Linked DNA regions of Homo sapiens: region 2 is linked to region 1. The links are contacts of gene promoters, found by promoter capture Hi-C in blood cells and fetal thymus (Javierre and others, 2016). All regions are on one chromosome and are shown on one strand. The core of a region is centred on a gene start or on the middle of the fragment in contact, and the rest is flanking DNA. Distances in the headings are between cores, read along the strand shown.

Region 1 (2,700 bases), core at 152-2,651:
TGCAAGCTGGTAATAGCAATTTGGATTTGGCCAAATCCTTCACCAACATTGCAAAGAGGATCAAAATTTGTTTCTTAGTGACAGCTATAGGATTGTAGGACAGTATTTCAGATAAGGAGGGCTTACAGATAAACAAACCACCACCTCAATGGTATTCAAGTTAAAACCTGTGACTGATGAGTCTACGTAAAACCAAAACAACATACTAAGTGATGATGAATGTCAGTATAAGAAAATACTTAAAATATGTGGTATGTTACAGAGCATTTCACACTTTTTAAAAAGAAAAGGATTCACTTAAATGGGTGACAGGCAGGGTAAGGGTAAATAAGATATGGTACTCTCACCTAAAAGTATATAATTTCCCTAATAGAAAGTATTGCTACCAATGTGGTATAAAAGGCTACAGAAGATAGACTGTATAAAGCGAAAAAATTATAAACCTGTATGTACAGCAATTTGTAGCGTAAATTATATAGAAGTATGGGTTTTTTGGCACATGCGTGAAAAATTTTAAGAGGTTTTCAAAAATATTTTACTTTTCTATAATTAAAATTTTAAAGATAATCAGCACATAGGTAATACAAAAAAAATCAGTGCCAATAAAAATAAGCAAAAGTTACAATTTTCCTATAGAGAAGGATGTTTAAACTGTGCTTACATATAGATTTAGTGAGGAATTTCAGCCTCTAGATTTTGCTTCAAAATTAAACCTAAGAGTTACCATGGAATTAAAACTGTACAGTAGTTTACCATAGGGAAACAAATTCTAACTTGATTTGTTTTATCTTCCATATTCAAAACATTTTCACACAGGGAAATAATAAGAGAAGAAAGGAACAAATACCCTAGGGGCTCAAAATCATTACCCGGACTTGTTTCCTGCCAGGTAGAGGCTCTGTGCTAATGATCTTCACAATCACTCCACTCACGAACTGTGGTCCTGTTGCATTAACTTTCTCCTGGGTGCGACACTCTTCCCTGTTGGCTGCTGATTAGAAAAGGAAAAAGACCAGGACTAAATCTCTTACACTTAACAACAATTTAATACTTAGGAGGACTACCTTAGAATAATTCCTGAGGCAGATTTAAATAATTTAAAACGTATTTAATTTTAAAGTAAACAATTAAAGGTTATATGTCATACTGCTTATTTCAAAATACCATGAATAAAACTCAGAAAGTTTTATTATTCTACATGCAAATTGTTACTGCTAGAAGAGCATTCGTAAAGCCTTTAAATTTGCCCCTTCTCCCTGAACAAAGGAACAGTAAATTTTTACTCAATAAAGTTAAAAAAAAGTTAAAGGATACTGTGTTTTAAATACATTATTATTCAAACGTGAACATTTATTTTTACAAGAAATGAGAATTTAAAATGTATCCTAATTTTGAATTCATAGGAATTCTGCTTTAACTTGTTCCTGCTTGTGGTGCATACTACAGAATGAAATTAACAGGTGAGAAACTACAATCTTCATTCCTACAAACTTGCTCAGTCTGCAAACTCTGCACTCATGTGCTTGATGAAAACTGTAGAGAAAACTCAGGTTATTTAAAAAATTGTTTTAAATGAGCCTTTTAAATATTCTTATATCAAGAGTAAGTAACACATCTGGATAACTTAACAAATCAAGAATTGTTCTAATAATGAAATAGAATAATCAAGTTTTTTAAAATTAAAATTTATCTTATAACAACTCAGAGATAGCATTTACATATATAAGTACATTATAATGTTGTCAAAACTATCAGTGATCTTTACTTTTTTCATTTTTCATTCCAGTGTTTTGAGGTACTCCACTGTCTGTTTCCATTTCTGACTCTGATTTTATTTGGGATATTGTTTTTTTTAAAGAAGCCATGCTAGCTTTTTGTAGCGCTAAATACTCTTTTTTCAAATCCATCCATTCGCTCCTACAAGGAAAGAAATGGTGATAACAGATGACTAAATATAAAAAGTAAATAGGGAAATATCTAAATATATACATTCACAATGACTTGGAGCAACTCCTCCACCAACTTTCCTGTTTCTTTAAACACATATTCAAAATATTTCCTAGGTTCTAAAGACATTTAGCAAAATAAGCTAAGGGAGTTCCTCTTCCCCCAATATTCAGATTAAATGTTTTAAGATTGCCAATTAAATTTTTGAGTGTCTGAAGTATTTTAATTTATAAAAGTAAAATTTTAGCATTAATTCCTTAACTAGTAACATTTACTAAATCAGTCATCTCTGTGGGAAAAGGGCGAGATTAAAGATTTGTTAAACTGCTTCCAATTTGAGAGATAACATTCCTTAGTATTTACTTGAATCAAAAAGAATTTCTAAGTAGAACAAAACACCCCGTGGAAGCAATCTATTTATTTACATACATTTAACATGTAGATGCTTCTTCAAACAGAGTTCCTCCAGATAGAAACACAATGCCTTTCTCGGCTCAGTGGGAGCACTCATTGTTACCCTAATCTATGCCATCAAACAAGCAGATAGGAGATTTTCTTTTTCTTTTTCTTTTTTTTTTTTAAGAGGAAGATATCTTGTGGTAATGGTTTTAGCTGTTAACATTGACATCTGTATACTTCAAAAAAAAAAAAAAGGATCCAGACCCACCCAGGATCATACATTCCCTGAGAGCTGATACATTAAAATAACAAAAGGCCCTTGTAATGATTCTCTGAGATAAAAAGGCAAAAGGA
Region 2 (2,700 bases), core at 107-2,606, 200 kb after region 1:
AGTTTGCTCCTTCTGTCTGGGGGAGATTCTGGGTTCACATGCAGTTAACTAATCTTGGCCGCCACAGTTGGTGAGAGTGGGACTGAATAAATGAATTCATCAGGACTACACCAGAAAAACAGCTGGGGTAATAATGACAATAAAACCCTATCTTTGTTTTGTTTTGTTTGAGAGGAAGTCTCGCTCTGTTGTCCAGGCTGGAGTGCAGTGGTGTGATCTTGGCTCACTGCAACCTCCGTCTCCCAGGTTCAAGCGATTCTCCTGCCTCAGCCCCTGAAGTAGCTGGGATTACAGGCATGTGCCACCACACCCAGCTAATTTTTGTATTTTTAGTAGAGACAAAAACCCTATCTTTGAACACCAAAGAGTGCCAGCCACTGTGCTAAGTCCTTCATAGGCATTACCTCTAATCCTCACAGCAAAACCCAGGTAGGGATTTTTATACTTGTTTTACATATGGGCACTCCAAGGCTGTAAAGAGGCCAGGCAACTTGCTCAGTGCCACTCTGCTAGTGAGCAGCAGAGCTGGGACTATTCCTGTCTGATTTCACCAGACACTCCCCTTCAAGGAGGCCTAGTGAGAGTGACTGCGGTAGAACTAGAGAGGACCTAATCACCAGCTGAGTCTAAAAACTATTGCCCTGAAAAGGAAAGACCTGAAAGTGAGTGAAGCCCCGTGAATTACTTCAGAGTGTCGGAATTCTTTGTTTCTAAATTTCAATTTTTTCTCCTTAGAAAGCGAGAAAGAGGAGAGTGTAGAAGATGGGGATGGGGCATAAAAGAGGCATTTGGGTAATATGGGGAGAAAAGTGAGCACCCACTCTTTCCTCCACATCCCTGCTGGCAGGGGATCAGCTGGGTCTAGAATTTAACTCTTTCTTTGCTGTGGCAAGAACAAAGTTCATTGTGCTTACCGAAGTCCTTCTCACCAACAGCTACATAACAGGGAGGAATATTGTGTGGCCATCATAGGACAAAAATATTTCACTTGATTTATTCCCCTAAAAGATTGCATGGGAAAGAAGTGTGATCAAGAAAATACAACTTTAAAACTGGAAACATGTTACTAAGGAAGTATTCTTAAACTTTGAAGTTAGACAACATTTTCATCACTTTGGGATGGTGGTCCGGTTGAGACCCTGAAGTTCCCGTAGTTTTGTCAACATGAAGCCACCCAGCATACCATAATACACAGTGGGAACAAAGCCTCTGGAGGCCCATGTGATCCACGAGCACAGTGTCTCATCTATTATCCAAGTGGTCTGTTCTAGAAACCATCTTTTGGGTGTGTTTTTTCATTTGTTTCTTCTGTCTCCCATGCTGAGAGTGATGACAAGGGTCATTTCTCGTTAATGTTGTGGACACTGCACTCAGAGTGACCTTTCTCACTGAGAAGCAGCCTTTCACAGTCTGGATTTTTAAACAGTTTCTCAAAAAAAGAAAAAAAAGTGAGTGTATTTCTTTAAAGATCACACTTTGCGTTTAGAGTTAGATGCCTGTAGCTCTCTCAGTCTTTCTGTAAGAAATATAATTTTGTTAGGGTCCGAAAGAGAAAATAACTCTAGGATTATTTTGCAGGAGCAAAAGAGAAGTAATTTTCAGCAAAGTGGAATATATCATTAATCTTTCCAGTGGAAAACATTATAGTAAATCAATAAATCACTTAGAAAGGTTTCTACTCCCTCCTGGCCATTCCATGGGTCTGTTGTGCCAACTTATAAAATGCTTCTTGGAAACAATATTTTCTTGATAACTGGAATGATTGTTACAATTTATAAAACATTAACTTTCCTAAAGTATATTTTTTAGTTATCTTTTTAGCATTTGAGCTACACTGTTGTTGGTGGATGTTCTGAGCATGGCATTTTTAGCACAAGGAGGTAAAGCAGTTGACAAATGCCAAAGGACCAATGCGCTTAACGCGTCTGGAGCTGTATCTCAATCTAATTTTTAAGTTATTGATGACAAAGTCTGGCCTTCTCTTGGCATCTGGAACAATTTGGAGCTGTCTGTTTCCCAATCATCAACTACTACGTAGCCACTAACTAGCAACAAAAATTTGTTATTGGCCTAAATAGGATGCATCTTAAACAATAGTCTTATTTGTGATTCTTTGCATTTCCCTCCTCCCCTCTCATAACCAAGAGTTGAGTGTAATAAAAGTTGATACTTGGCAATGCAGAGTTTTAGAGATGCCAAGTTTAATTCGCTTTTATAGGTTGTCTAAAGATGCTTAGGGATAGCTTTTTGTTGAGTGGGTGTTCCAGATCAGCTTAGACAGTGCAGACCATGCCACAGGGATGGAGGGAGGAAACAAGGCAGGAGGGGATGAAGTCAGGTCGATTCTGTGGCAGGTTATCAAGATCATGCTGAATAGTGGAGCTCTCTCTAATATCCAGCTCCTTCTCAGATCATCTTCCTTAATACTTGGCTCAACATCCTAGGACTTTGACATTTTCAGATGCCTTTGGCAGAACAATTTATAGTTTTGAGTCTTGGCACATGGCATATTTCAAAGACTTCCAGGGTCCATTGCTCTTAATCTTTATCTATACTCATGGAAAGATCCTGCTAACTTGTCTATAGTGGGGCAAAGGGGCCAGCCACTCAGATGCTTGTGTGCTGGCCTGGCCTGGCCTGGCTCCTCTGCACGAGCGTGCCCCAGAGGCTGGGGAAGGATACAGCTAGCCAGAGGATCCT

Evidence for each region. The method cuts DNA at HindIII sites, captures the fragments that hold promoters and counts their contacts. A CHiCAGO score of 5 or more calls a contact.
Region 2: a contact is called between a fragment that was not itself captured here and the fragment with the promoter of MIR302CHG in region 1, in 1 of 17 cell types (neutrophils). The highest score is 5.0, in neutrophils.

The regions. Positions count from the first base shown.
Region 1 is chr4:112,648,752-112,651,451 of GRCh38, reverse strand. It overlaps MIR302CHG (miR-302/367 cluster host gene), which reads left to right and starts at 1,401. Exons shown (of 3, transcript NR_146092.1): 1 at 1,401-1,460. It overlaps LARP7 (La ribonucleoprotein 7, transcriptional regulator), which reads right to left. Exons shown (of 13, transcript NM_016648.4): 9 at 1,766-1,917; 10 at 870-991. RefSeq lists an enhancer at 1,859-2,581. The HindIII fragment of the contact is 6,288 bases long and covers 1-2,700 here.
Region 2 is chr4:112,449,884-112,452,583 of GRCh38, reverse strand. No RefSeq gene overlaps it. Among named protein-coding and RNA genes, the nearest start is that of NEUROG2-AS1, 64 kb to the left of the region's middle. The HindIII fragment of the contact is 9,571 bases long and covers 1-2,700 here.